Regions from separate parts of the Homo sapiens genome. Here region 1 is linked to region 2. Evidence: promoter capture Hi-C in human tissues and cell types (Jung and others, 2019). All regions are on one chromosome and are shown on one strand. The core of a region is centred on a gene start or on the middle of the fragment in contact, and the rest is flanking DNA. Distances in the headings are between cores, read along the strand shown.

Region 1 (7,540 bases), core at 3,399-5,898, 310 kb before region 2:
TTACACATCCAAGGACCTTACTAATATTAAGAATGTATGAGTCTGTGCCCCTCATGGGCATAGGCTTGAAGCCCAAATCTACTTCCCCATCTTGGAAAAAAAAAAAAAAGATCAGGTTCTGTGGCTGCTTTGAATACCGGACTGGCTTCTCACTTGGCAGCAAAGGAGATGGCACCTGACTCAGGGAGCAATGGGGGTTTCTTTCTAATGTGCTAATCCCTTTATGTTCATATCCTCAACTTCAAAACATCATTAGGAAGTGAGAATACTCATTTCCCAGGTGACGAAGTTGAGAGACAATAAGGTGAAGAGGCAGCGTAGTTAAATTACAACTACAGGGTTAGAAAGTGGCAGAAGCAGGATTCCCGGCCAGCTCTGCCCAGCCCTAAACCTTTTCCCCCACAACTTCATGCTGTTTCTCGTTCATACTTAGCATGGATAAAGTGCAGTAGGATGGAATTAATAGATTCATCTCCAGGTAATGTGTTTAATATAGAGGGCAGACATTCAATTTGAGAAATGGTAAATCTCTAACCTTCTAAGAAAATCATTTATTTATTGAACCTTTCATGCCAGGCACCGTAGAAGGGGCTATGGCTATGAAGATGGATGCAACAAGATTCTTGCTTCTAGTTTACATTCTAATAGGGGAAATCAGAAGTAAAAATAAGGGCAACAAAGTGTAACAGACACCGTGATAGAAACACAAAAAGTATCCAATATAGGTCCAAGGGAAGGATAGGTGATCTTTTTTTTCTAGAAGGGTCAGGAAACACTATACTACTATATTAAAGTACTAATAACTATAGGGCCACATTAAGCAATACTAAAGAGGAACATTCATTGCTCATTCAGCAAACATGAAACACCCAGTATGCATCAGTCACTGGGGCCCATATGGATGACTAATCCTCCCACCCTGCCTTCTGAACCTATTCTTCTTGGCACCTTCCAAGGGGACCATTTCTCTTAAGATGTCCACAAACAGCTCCAGCTCATGTATCACTCAGCAGAATCTAGTGGATTTACTCTTACTGCAAACCTAACAGAGCATACTGGGACTACTTTTCAAGACCCTTTGCAGAGTTCTGGGCAATGGAATGTGTGCTTCCTGGCCTCTGGACCATGAAAATTACCCAGGAGCAACCTTCCATTCCACCCTCCCCCACCCCTCTTCTTTCTTGTCTCTCTCTCTCTGTGTGTGTGTGACTGTGAATGTGTGTATGTCTCTTTCTCTCTCTCCCTCTCCTCTACCCCAACACAGATGGTGGTGCCACAGATAGGAGGACTCTGGGTCCCTGAATCACCACTTGGGGCAGGGATATCTGGTAGCATTGGCCCATTATGTGATCAAGAAATAGATTTCTATTGCATTGTCACTGAAACTTGGTCATTGTCAGTTACAGCAATCAACCTGCCCTTAACTAATATGGCAGCACAAGGATAACCTTTACAACAATGTTCCATCTAAGTTACAATAGGAAGTTTTCAGAGCAATGGTGTGTGACTGCCCAGTAAAATTCCCAGAAGACAGTTAAAGATGAAGCAGTGCAGAGCAAAGTAAACCCACAATGCAAAACAAGGGTTCAGGAAAGGCCACAAAAGCAATAATGGTTCCTTTAATAAATAAACTTTTTAACAGAAATATATGAATTCTTCTTTATAAGTTGTTTTCCTCCAGGTTAGATCTCTCCTGATCTTTTGGTTGTCATTGCTTTTCACACCCCATCATAAGACCATGACTCAGGACACCCACTAGAACTTCTTACCCTTACACTAGGCCATTGCCTCTGAATCAGACTCCTGGATTCCTATTAACAATATACCCCAAAGTGGTTTCACATCAACAAAAGCTCACACATACAGGAGCCCATGAGGCTTGGTGTTTGGAGTGATGCTGGGCAACCCAATCCTTTACATTTTGTGCGTGTCCTGGTGCGTTCCAGGGCCATGGTCACAGTTCAAAGCCAGCTGACACGAAATATTTTTGTTCAGTTCTAAGAGCACCAAAAAGTTCAAAGGGCAGTTTAAACTAGAAAAAGTTAACTGTAACCACTACATCCTTTATAAATATAAAACAGGATGGTCTTAGAAAGGTTCCTTCATGTCCAAAACCAAATTAGATCATATTGCCCCTTAACCAATGAACTTGGGAAGTGACACAGGACAGGGTCCAGCAGGACAGCAGAGCAGAGGGGCTTAGAATAAGGGACTGTGGTTGAAGAGAGGCTTGAGCTAAGTCTCTGCTCCTGACTACATATAACTCAGTCATCTAATCTATGAAATGACATCCTGATGGTAGCTTTCACATAGGGAGTCTTAGTCAGGGCTGCTGTAACAAAGCACCATAAACTAGGTGGCTTTAAATATTTCTTACGGTTCTGGAGGCAGTAAGTCCAAGATCAAGATGCCAGCATGGTCGGTTCTGGTGAGAGCCCTCTTCTGGGTAGCAGACAGCTGCCTTCTTGTATGCTTACATGGCAGAAACAAGGCAAGAGAGCTCTCTGGGGTTCCTTTTATCTGGGCACTGATCCTATTCATGAAGGTTCCACCTTTATGATATAATTACTTCCCAAAGGCCCCACCTTCTAATATCATTACATTAGGGATTAGGATTTCAACATATGAATTTTGGGGGCAAATTCAGTCCATTGCATAGGGCATCAGAAGATAACATGTGTAAGGATCTGAAAACAATACCAGGAATAGTTTAGTACATTACATACCACCCTGTTACAAGCCAATCTCCCACAGTCTCTAAGGGCCATCCTGATAGTCTTCAATAGACTTGGTAAGAGCATCTGAAGCTGGTATCTGACCTAGACTGACTGGGTTTTTCCAGGGTGACACCTGAACCCCCTCCCCTGGCAGCTACCCTCACAGTCACAGACCTTGGAATATAAAAGAGGTATAGTCTGTGACCCAATGTGGATGACCTTGTGTCATAGGCATTTGATGCAAAAGCAGAAGCTAGTGTTCCAGATAAGAGTCCTGGATTTCCCAGGCCTGGATTTCCAATTCTTTACTAGCAAATGTATTACCAATGTGTGTGTTTTATGTCCAGTGTATGTAATCTATGCTAGCGGGTTTCCCAGAAAAGCAATGTCAGCACCTAATTTACATTCCATGAAGATGTCTGCAGCTGTACAGATAATCTGCACAAATTCCTTGCACTAAAACTATATCTAGAGAGCTGACTGCTTCTAAGACAAGACAGCCAATTTGTACAAACCTTAATATGTACATACGCCTGGGTCAAGTTAAGAAGAGATGCTTGGCGTGAACAGACACCGCTTGTGAGCACCACTTAATCCCTCTGTGAACTGGTTTCCTTGTTTGTTAATGGCAATAATAAGAGCCTCCTCCACAGGGCTGCACTGAGGATTAAATGTAAAGCCCTTGGCATGGTGCCTGGTGGTCTGAGGGTACAGAATGGCATAATTGAGAAAGTATAGTCTTCAGAGTCACAGAACTCTGTGCTCTTATGCTGACTAGCAGTGTGGCCTTGAGAAGTCACCTACTATTTCTCAGCCTAAGTGTTCCCACAATAAAAAAATAATATCTACGTTTTCAAGTTGTGGTAAAACTTATAACTGGTTGTGTAAAGCACCGGCCAAAAACCTGGCAGAGTCAGCATAGCATAAATGCAGTATGATTCTTCAAATTTCCAAATCTCTCCCTCTCTTAGTGCATTTAGGCCACCAAACCCACCTACTCCTTTCAGTACCAAGACATCTACAGAGTGAGTGTGCCCCTTTGATTTCTCAGTCCCACATGGGCGCCCTTAGCATGAGCATGCCCCCTACACAAGGTCAGCTCCCAGAGCAGCAGTAACAACCCAACCCATGAAGTGCTGCCACACTTGGAGTCAGCAGCTCCCGTAAGAGGCAGAGGTTTGGCCAGGCGCAGTGGCTCACTCCTGTAATCCCAGCACTTTGGGAGGCCAAGGCCAGCAGATTACCTGAGGTCAGGAGTTCAACACCAGACTAGCCTGGCCAGTATGGTGAAAATGCGTCTCTACTAAAAATATATATAAAAAAATTAGCTGGGCGTGGTGGTGCATGCCTGCAGTCCCAACTACTCGGGAGGGTGAGGCAGGAGAATCGGTTGAACCCAGGAGGCAGAGGTTGAAGTGAGCCGAGATCACGCCACTGCACTCCAGCCTGGGCGACAGAGCAAAACTCCGTCAAAAAAAAAAAAAGAGGCAGAAGTTTTGTTTGCACATACATGTCACATATTGGGGTGGAAAACTCAGTTGGAAAAAATAATAAAAGAATTTGGAAGCATCCAGGCAATTTCAGATATCTGTTTTAATTTGCGTTCTGTAAATCCACTGCGCTGTCACCAAGGTATAACAATAGTCATTTTCTCATTCTTTTTTTTTCCATTTGCTGCAATGCAAATGAAACAAATTACCCAGACTTCCAAATTCCATCCTATAATAAGATTGGTTTTGGAGATGAGGCAATAGACTAACTTCCCTGTGCTGTTTTCCTAATAAAAAGTGCGCCCTTACTTATATACTGCAAGATACGAGGTTGCTACAGGCTATTAACACCATGACCTGCTTACCTTGCAAAGAGCTGTATTTTGTGTGTGTGTATGAGACAGAGTCTCGCTCTGTCGCCCAGGCTGGAGTGCAGTGGTGTGATCTCAGAAGAGCTATATTTTATGAGCTAGCAACAGCTCATGGCACCTGTCTTAGCCTCTTTTAGCCTATGTTCCAATAGCTCTGCTGCTAGGTTCCTTCACTAGTGAAAGACAAATCAATCCTTTTCCCACATACCTCCTAAGAGCTGGAGAGGACACTGTCGTTGTGTTTACTGAATAAACCACACCACAGATTAACTTGAAGCAAATGTATATCTACTCCTAGTTTGGGCCTGGCTATTACGAGCAGGGTTGAGACTAAGATCCAGTAATTTTTGCCCTGATTTCTTGGTATTTTATGTAATGTCGATTCCAAAGCATAAATGTGGACCTATGAGAGAACGTCCAAAGCTAATTTTTCTATCTAAACAAAATAGCGCTTTGAGGAGGTGGTCAGTCATCTGAAATTCCCCACAGATGCAAATGACCTTTGCAACTGAGAATTATATCTCCTGGTTCAACTGCTGCCTGGAACAACCACTGTCCAGTCTACCTTCATGTCCACCCGCAAGGGCCTTCATGGGACCTGGAGTTCCAAGGTCCAGAGATTTCCAAATAAAGCTCCCGGACTCCTCTCTGCATCTTCAGTGCTGATTTTACCTGTGTTATATGGAGGCATACTATATAAAATTTCATTTTTTAAAAAAGTGCTTTTTCTGCTTAAATTGTTGTATACACTGACCTATATAATACATGAGAGAAAAAAAGTTTGCATGATATATAGAAGTCCAAGAAATTGAGTCCAAATTCAGTTGTCCACTTTGTAATCTTTTACAAGCTACCTAACTTATCTGGGTTTCAATTTCCTCTCTTATAAAGTGGGATATATGTGAAAGTGCTCAGCACACATGAATTCAGTTCCTGTTTCCCTTTCCTTAGAATAGATGGGAGGGCAGAAGGCCTTGTCATATGGTACCAGTTCAGAGTAAGAAACAATGAAACAGGACAAACTGTGAAAGATCTAGAGATTTCAATTTCTGGCCAGTTTGTGTGTGCGTGTGCGTGTGCGTGTGTGTGTGTGTGTGTATGCATGTGTGCTTTATTCCATTTTTCCATGGGCTGAAAGGGCCTTCATTTCATTTTTGGAGGAAACAGGAATGATTGAACATGGGGAAATTATATTCTACTCCATATGCAGAGCTTTCCCACCCGAGGCAGCCCAGAAATGGAGCAGGAATTGGGCCAACTGCCTGGGACTACAGTCAGGAAGGAAAGAGCCGTGAGAGCCGCCTGGACCAGGACCATCTGGGCCCCTCAGCAGTCCTGGCTCATCGCACACCTCCTTCCAGCACCAAGCTCAAGGTGATGTGCCCAAAGCTCTTTCGAAGGCATTTCAACTGTTAAGATAACCAGTTCATACAGAAATCCACATCCGGGACCTTAGTTCTCTCAGAGCACGTAATAGCCACATCTTCCTCCAATTCACCTTCACGTTTAATTGTGTAGTTCTTAGTAATGCTATCTTATCAGAATTATACTAACTTTTCATTTTTTAACCTTTCTTTCACAAACGTGATGAGATAAATCTGAACATTTGGGTATTAGAAGATAGTTCTGCCAAGTGCGCCCCCCACTCAAAATAAAAACAAAAACAAAAAACAACTGAGCATTTCCCGAAAAACTGCTCTCAGAACACTGGCTTCTTTTCCTGTCCTCAACTGAGGATAGAAAGGAACAAAGAGGCAAGTAAAGGGGCTGTGAGATGATGTGGGAGTAGGTCTTAAAAATGGAGGAGAAAAGAAGGGATTGGGGAACAAAGATGATGGAGAGAGAATGCGTGGGGAAAAAGAAACACGTCATACAAACTGAAATTCCCATATAGAACCCAGAACTGCTGAGAATGCACCCTTTCTCTGGAAGTCACTTGCAGCAACCATGGCTTTATAAGTATTTTATGTTTTATTTTAGTTTTTTTAATAAGTATGCAAGAGAAAGGTGGTATTACAGAAGATAAAATGCCTTCCTTGCCCAATCCATTCCTAAGGGCCCTTTGTACAACCCTCTGAACATCTTTCATGCTAGTTACTAAGTTAAGGCCATGCCCTTTGGGAAAAACTAAGTGTCACAGCGTAAAATTACAGTGTCTGGGAAGTCAGCACTGCTAGTTTTAGGATGTAATCTTGTCCTAAGAAATCAGTAAAACTAGATTCCGGGATAAATAAGGCAAACTGCAACGGTTCTTTAGATTGTGTGCGTTCCTTGAAGGCAGAGACCCTGTCCAGGTTTTCCCTTGAATATCCAATTCTAAAAGAAAACATGTGCTAAATGTTTATTAAATGAACATTGTCTCCTACTTAGAAACAACCAGTCTTCATATAAACTCCTTTATGGGCTCTCTACAATTTTCTAATGTTGTTCCACCTTCCTTATGCAAGCATTGAGAAGAAAGTGAGAAGACTCAGACCTGGTGAGATCTCCACCCAAGCCCTAGTGCAGCCTCTATAAAGTTAATTTTAGAAAACAAGTGAATCCCATATTTCCTATAAATTTTCTTAGAGAAAAGTGTGAAGAGTTTTAAGTGATTAGAGTACCTCTCACATTAGCTTCCCATGACCCAGTGCCTATTAAGGAGAGGGAAAGAGATAAAATCTATTGGTCCCCTTTTACAAGCAGTACGAGACTATCATATCTGGGATAAGGAAAACTTGTCGGCTCTCCGCCTGGGGACAATTCTGCAACCTCAGAGCAGCAAGCTATAATTCAAGCAGAACAAGATAGTCCCACTGAACTGAAGAGGCAAAGACCAGAATTCAGTTCACCTGAAGTGCCTGAAATTTCTAAAAAGGGGCACAAGGGTGGACGGATTTGTGCAGAGTGGCCACAGAAATCTGTAAGTAGATCCACCCCCCATCCTTGGCATAGGCAACATCACCCGAGGCCTACCAAACAG
Region 2 (6,755 bases), core at 335-2,834:
TAATTCTTATCTAAAACATAGGAATGGAGTGAAGCTAGAACTGATTGGTAAAGAAGTCATAATAGCTAGGATAGGGGCTATTTGAACAATATTCATGGTTTTCTATTATCAGACATGATTATGATTATGTTTTTGTTGATTCATTGTGGTCACAATGGCCTTGGCTGATGCTGTGCTGTGAAATTGTATACGTTTAACCAGGGAAAACCATGGTCCAGTTGTGAGTTTCAGGCCAGCTCCAGGCTTTCAGGGCCTGCTTTTCTCTTTTTCAAGGTTAATATAAAAAAGAAAAGTGCTATAGTATGTATGAGTAAGATCTACACACATCCGAAACATTCAACAGTGGCTGTGTGTGGACAAGGCTGAAAGCTCAATGTAGAGGAGTATACAAATATTACTATTCCTATTTAAAACAGCTCAGTAATTACTGTGTGAACTTGACAATAACATTAACAGCTTCCATTTTTTAAGTATCTACTGTATGCCATGTTATGTACTAGGTGCCTTGCATACATTCAACAGCTTTGCAAGGTGAACATATTTTGATCATCTCCACTTTACAGGTAAGTAGACAGACTATTATTTCCAGAACTGCCAAGTTACATTTATTAAATGGAAGAGCTGGTATATTAATGGGTTCAGCTCATTTTGAGCTCACTGTATTTCCCCTATACCAGGATGCCTTTCTATTCAGAACTTTGATGTCTAAAGTTACAGCAATGGAGATAAAATACATTATTGGCAGGATTGTTCAGAGACTCAAATGCTATCATACATCTATATATGATGTATGAAAGCACCTAGCACAATAACTGGCTCATGGTAGACAAATCATAACTAACTGTACTGTTTTCATAGCAGAGGTGCCTCTAAACGTGAGTACAGATAAGTTAACTATATTGAGATTGTGGAGTGACTCGACGATTTTAACCTCTTGGTCACAGAGAAATCAGGCTGAAGCATTTTACCTTTATAGAATCATAGTATTTTGAAGAACCAAGAAATTGTCAAGGTCTTCTTTTACAGATGAGAAAAATGAAGCTCGGAAAAGCAGTTAATTTGCCCAGGGTCACACATTTAATTATTGCCCGAGCTTGGCTAAGAAACCAGGTCTTCTGACTCCTAAGCCCTTGCCTTCTTCAGGCCACATAGCTGCTTCTTTTCATGATGTGTAGATTAGAAAAGTCAGTGTGCCCCGGGGCCCTTGATTGCACCTTGGTTTCCCTAACAAGGATATGGGATCCCTGCTGACATTTCAGACCTTAAGTTGCAGAGCTCTGCACTTGGATCTTCTTCCTTCTTGTTATATAATCTTACAGTTAAAAGTTTCTAGGAATATTTTTATTACGTGCAATTGGCAACTTCAGTATTTTTTAAAGGGTGTTGGTAGCATTATTTCCGGGAGCTACTTAGCGCTCCGGTTCGGTACCTCGTGGAGAAGACGGGGGAGGGGAGCAGCGAGATTTCCTTGCGGAGCAATATTCCTAGGGTACAGACCTCGTAGCCCGGGCCCGCGACTCCGCCCCGGGAGCGGGCAGGGGCGGGGCGAGCGCTCCAGCTGGCGGGAAGGAGGAAGGGCCGGGCGCGGCGCAGAGGCGGGCGCCTACCAGCCGGCAGCTCCGGAGCTGCCCGCGCCATGTCCGCGCACAATCGGGGCACCGAGCTCGGTAAGGGGCCCGCGGGGCTCCCCATCCCCTCTCCCTCGCGTTCAGCGCCGCCGGGACTAGCGCGGGGCCTGCTGCCGCCCAGTGCCCTGGCTGTGGGTCCCCGAGGGGTTTTCGCTGGGGCGGGAAGCAGTGGCGTCTGGTCAGCCCTCACCCCAAGTAAAGGCCGAACCCGGCACGTTCGCGCCGCTTGTCTTTGCACCTAAGCTTTTACTCTTGTATGCGGAAGGAGTAGGAAAGGGTTAGATTATTATCTTCCTGCCTTTTCGTTCACTCTAGCTCGCTGGTTGGAAAACCCAACAACCCAAAAAACAAAACCCAAAACAAACAACCCCCAAGCAGGTAAAAACAGATAAAAACCTTCTTTCTCCTCCTTTTAATAGAATACTTGTGTAATTTAATGCAGTATTTCCGTAGATAATTTTAACCGTAACCTTGAAGTGGCCGTGCTCGTGGAAAAGTTGTCAGCCGTCTGTGCTCAAAATGTAACACTGCAGATTCATGGGATTTTAGAGTTACAAAGATTTGTTAAAGTACCTGTATTATTTCCCAGTTTTCATCTTTTTTTATATTGTTCAAATACTGGCAAGAAACCTTAGTTCAGATTTCTTTTTTTTTTTTTTTTATTGATCATTCTTGGGTGTTTCTCGCAGAGGGGGATTTGGCAGGGTCATAGGACAGTAGTGGAGGGAAGGTCAGCTGATAAACAAGTGAACAAAGGTCTCTGGTTTTCCTAGGCAGAGGACCCTGCGGCCTTCCGCAGTGTTTGTGTCCCTGGGTACTTAAGATTAGGGAGTGGTGATGACTCTTAACGAGCATGCTGCCTTCAAGCATCTGTTTAACAAAGCACATCTTGCACCGCCCTTAATCCATTTAACCCTGAGTGGACACAGCACATGTTTCAGAGAGCACAGGGTTGGGGATAAGGTCACAGATCAACAGGATCCCAAGGCAGAAGAGAATTTTTCTTCAGATTTCTTAACATGTGAAAAATTTATAATTCAAACAGCAAAACCATGATCAAGAGAAGGTTTAAGCGTCTCGTTTAAGTATTATAGCTTGGATATCTGTGTATCCAGGATCTTTAACTTCTTACCTGTGTGACTTCGGACAAATTAATAACTTTGCGCTTAAGTTTCTTCATCTGTAAAATGGTTATTTTAGTGGTAGTTACCTTATAAGGCCGTTAGGAGATTAAATAGGATACATGTAAAGTAGTTTGGTATATTGTGGACACCTAGTAAGTCTTCAGTATAGATAGTATTAGTATATGGAGTTATGGTTTTAGGGGCTAATTTTGAGAAAATTGGCTGTAAATTATATGTAACACATACAGGTAGGTCCTTTTCGCCCTCCTTAAAAGTGACTGGTACTTAAACAGTCTGCACTTCCAAGAGGTGTTCTGGATTTTTTGTCGAATGGTAAGAGAGTAAATCTATCATTTTAAAGACAGTTGATTTACTAACCTGGTTGATTTTGTTTTAGTCACTGTCCTCTAGCTGATTATGTTTTAAACTCTAGTCCTATCTCTGGAACGTGGTCTTTAGTAATAACGGCATTATTTCTTAGATTGGAATATCCTTGAAGGTGGTGGATATGGGGCAGGTTTGGGGTGGTGTCTTACCTGGGTATTCCCAGGAATATGACCATGTGACTATGCATACATCAAGGATGTGCCCTAAATTTCCCAAAACTTAGACATTTTAAATTTTTCTTTCAAAAAACATAATTGAACCATTTTTAAATTTATTTATTTGCAGTAATTAGAATCAATCACTTCCATTCATTTGTTGAAAAGTAATAGACATAAATAATTGCCAGGTAGAACAATAGTAAATGTGGTTTTTATGCAGCTATCGAAATGATCATAGCTTTGTATTTATTATCTTATTTGTTAAAATCAGATTTTTTTCCTTCACGGGTATTAATCCTTAATCCAAACAGGTTTAAACTGAAATGCTAAAATAAGTTATTTGAATTAGGTACTAGGGAAAAAAATCTTTCAGTATTAATTTATGCAGTATATTAACTGATGATTTTTAAAATAGTTTTCTAATTGAAAGTCTTTTTAATAAACATCGTAACTAATTTCTAAAATAAATTAACATTTTTGCTTCCCTTTTCTTATTACAAAAGGAATTCATGGTTATTGTAAAAATTCTAGAAAATACAGTTAGCACAAAAATGTTGTAATATTATTACTAGTCCAATCACTGTTATTTATGATTTGGTGTATGTACTTCTAGTTCATGGACTTAAAAAAACATTGAGTTCCTTTGAGACTAAACCTGACCCTCATGATTAAAAAGTCTTTAAGGAAAACATTGGCATTTGGATGTATGAAAGATGTTTTCCAAATAGGGAATGTACCCTCTAGCTTTCATATTAGAGGATGGGGCCCAGCATTCTGAGTTTTAACAAATCCTGTGGGTAGTACTGAAGCATACCCAAGTTTGAGAACCAATGGCTTAATGATCTCCAAGGTACTATCAAGTTTTGTACCTAGACTATTATGCCCTATATAGTCTATTAAAATGTACAGATATTCTTCTATTTTATTAGATGCCACTTAACTATTGCCTAAAATGCAGGTGTCACGTGGGTAGTGATCTTTCTTTTGTTCACTGATGTGTCCCAAGTACCTAGAATAGTGTTTGGTACACAGAAGGCCCTCAAAAATGTCTTGAGGCTGGGCATGGTGGCTCATGCCTATAGTCCTGGCACTTTGGGAGGCTCAAGGCAGCCGGATCACTTGAGATCAGAAGTTGGAGACCAGCCTGGCCAACATGGCAAAACCCTATCTCTACTAAAAATACAAAAATTAGCTGGGCATAGTGGCGCATGCCTGTAGTCCCAGCTACTTGGGAAGCTGAGGTACGAGAATCGCTTGAACCCAGAGAGTGGAGGTTGCAGTGAGCTGGAATTGTGCCACTGCACTCCATTGGGCAACAGACTGGAGACAGACTGTGTCTCAAAAAAGATAAAAAAAAAAAAAAAAAAAGAAAAAGTCTGTTGAATGAAGGAATGAATTGAGAGCTGCTTCTTACTTGGGGGAACTGGGGAATCTACCTGGTCCCCGTGTATGGTTGCATGGACAGATGCTGTGAAGCTTGGCACCTTCTTCCTCTTTGTAAGTATTATTAAGATTCAGTTTTGTTACATCCGTCTTCAGAGCTATCTCAAGAAGCCTATAAAGGATGTAGATAGTGTAACTTCCTTGCAAATGTTATCTTTGGAGGCGTCTGGAGAATGCGGGTGTTATTAGATGACTTCTAAGGATCTCCCTGCTCTGTCTCTGTGTGTCTGAAAACTCTTCTGTTCAAAAAGCAACATTTCAAAGATATCTGAAAAATAACCATGATGGGATTTTGTATTTTTTTTCGAGACAGAGTCTCCCTCTGTTGCCCAGGCTGGAGTGCGGTGGTGTGATCTTGGCTCACTGCAACCTCCGTCTCCCAGGTTCAAGCAATCCTCCTGCCTCAGCCTCCCGAGTAGCTGAGATTACAGGTGCCTGCCACCAAGCCCGGCTAATATTTTTATATTTTTAGTAGAGACGGGTTTTTGCCATGTTGGCCAGGTTGGTGGGATTTTTTTATTTTAAGAAGCACATTTATTTAGGTAGTTATTGAGTACCAATCTGTACTGGGTAGTATTACCCTAGGCTGGGGGTACAAGATAATCAGGGATGGTCACTGCCTTCACAGAGCTATTAATCGGTCTGGTTCAGGACCTGGACATCAAGCTAGAGCTACAATTAAATGCAAGTGTGATGTGCAATTATTTTTCATTTATTTTTGTCTAAAATTAGATAGATGTACCTAGACTGTGCTTTAAATGGGTTGTGAAAACAGAATGTCCTGGGCCTTTTGCATTATAATTTTTAATTTCCTTTTAAAAGAACCTATGAATTAGGGATTTAGGGAGCTCATTTTTGGCATTCCTGCTAAAGTATAACTTGGGTACAGAATGTTTCTGATTTGGGTGATGGTGATTTTCCACTGCAAAGTTAACGTTTAATTTTTGGAATGGATATTTATTTATTTATTTGTTTATTTATTGTTTCAATAGAGACCGTGTGTCAGTATGTTGACCAGACTGTTCTCAAACTCCTAGCCTCAAGTGATACTCCAGCCTCTGCCTCCCAAAGTGCTAGGATTATAGGCATGAGCCACCGTGCATGGCCTAGAATGGCATCTTAAACCTCAACAATAGGCAAAGGCTATCTGTTTGCATAATAATTCTTCACCTTATTTAATACCTACTGTGTGCAGACACTGTGCTTAGGTGCTGGGTATAATGATAGTGTCAACACAGAGCTCTAGCTACTTGTAAGGCACTATGCTGAATGCTTGAAATTCTCATTTAGTCCACAATGGCCCTGTGAGGGAGATAGCATGATCCAGGTTTACACACGAGCAAACTGAGGTACAGGGAGTTTTAAGTAACCTGCCGAAAACCAGTTAGGTATAGCTAATGTGGCAGAGCCAGAATTCAAGCCCAGGTGATTTGGTGCTAATAATGCTACATGCTTAAACAACCACACTGTGTCGACTGGTGCTAACTGGGAGCACTACACCCTGATGTCAGAAGAGTCAAATAGATAACTGGTGAATACTGTTAATGTTACTCTTTTAGGTTTGATTTGTCTGTTTAAAACATAAAGGTTACTGTTTTATTGCCATAACCCACATCTTAACCATTGCAGTTTGTTTCAGAGAAGATGCAATTTATCCTGAGGGAGAATGGAAAAGTCCAAACTTTGGTAGATTATGAGAGTAGGGTTCGATGTTAGTGAAGTTTTCAAGGATGGCATGTCAAAACCAGACTTCCTCAGGAACTGCTTCATGTGGATATACTGATGAGCCTCAGAGCATCATGTGATGGTGACCAGGGAGTGACCTCAAGGTGAATAGAGTGGGGCTTTTCTTTGTGTGTGTGTTTGTTTTCGTCTCTTGCAGTTTTGTAAAACGTTACCTTTCATACTCCAGTCTTTGGGCTGGCCTCAGCTTCTAGGTTTAAAAACCAATACTGTTTCTTTTTTTTTTTTTTTTTTTTTTGAGACAGAGTCTCACTCTGTCACCCAGGCTGGAG

Evidence for each region. Contacts are between HindIII fragments. The study calls those that stand out against the background at their distance.
Region 1: a contact is called between a fragment that was not itself captured here and the fragment with the promoter of DERA in region 2, in 1 of the 25 tissues and cell types used here (mesendoderm cells).

Annotation. Positions count from the first base shown.
Region 1 is chr12:15,600,529-15,608,068 of GRCh38, forward strand. No RefSeq gene overlaps it. Among named protein-coding and RNA genes, the nearest start is that of EPS8, 190 kb to the right of the region's middle. The HindIII fragment of the contact is 8,413 bases long and covers 443-7,540 here.
Region 2 is chr12:15,909,748-15,916,502 of GRCh38, forward strand. It overlaps DERA (deoxyribose-phosphate aldolase), which reads left to right and starts at 1,585. Exons shown (of 9, transcript NM_015954.4): 1 at 1,585-1,667. The coding sequence starts at 1,637. RefSeq lists enhancers at 1,275-2,019, 2,020-2,763 and silencers at 1,443-1,502, 1,523-1,872, 6,730-6,755. The HindIII fragment of the contact is 4,741 bases long and covers 1-3,322 here.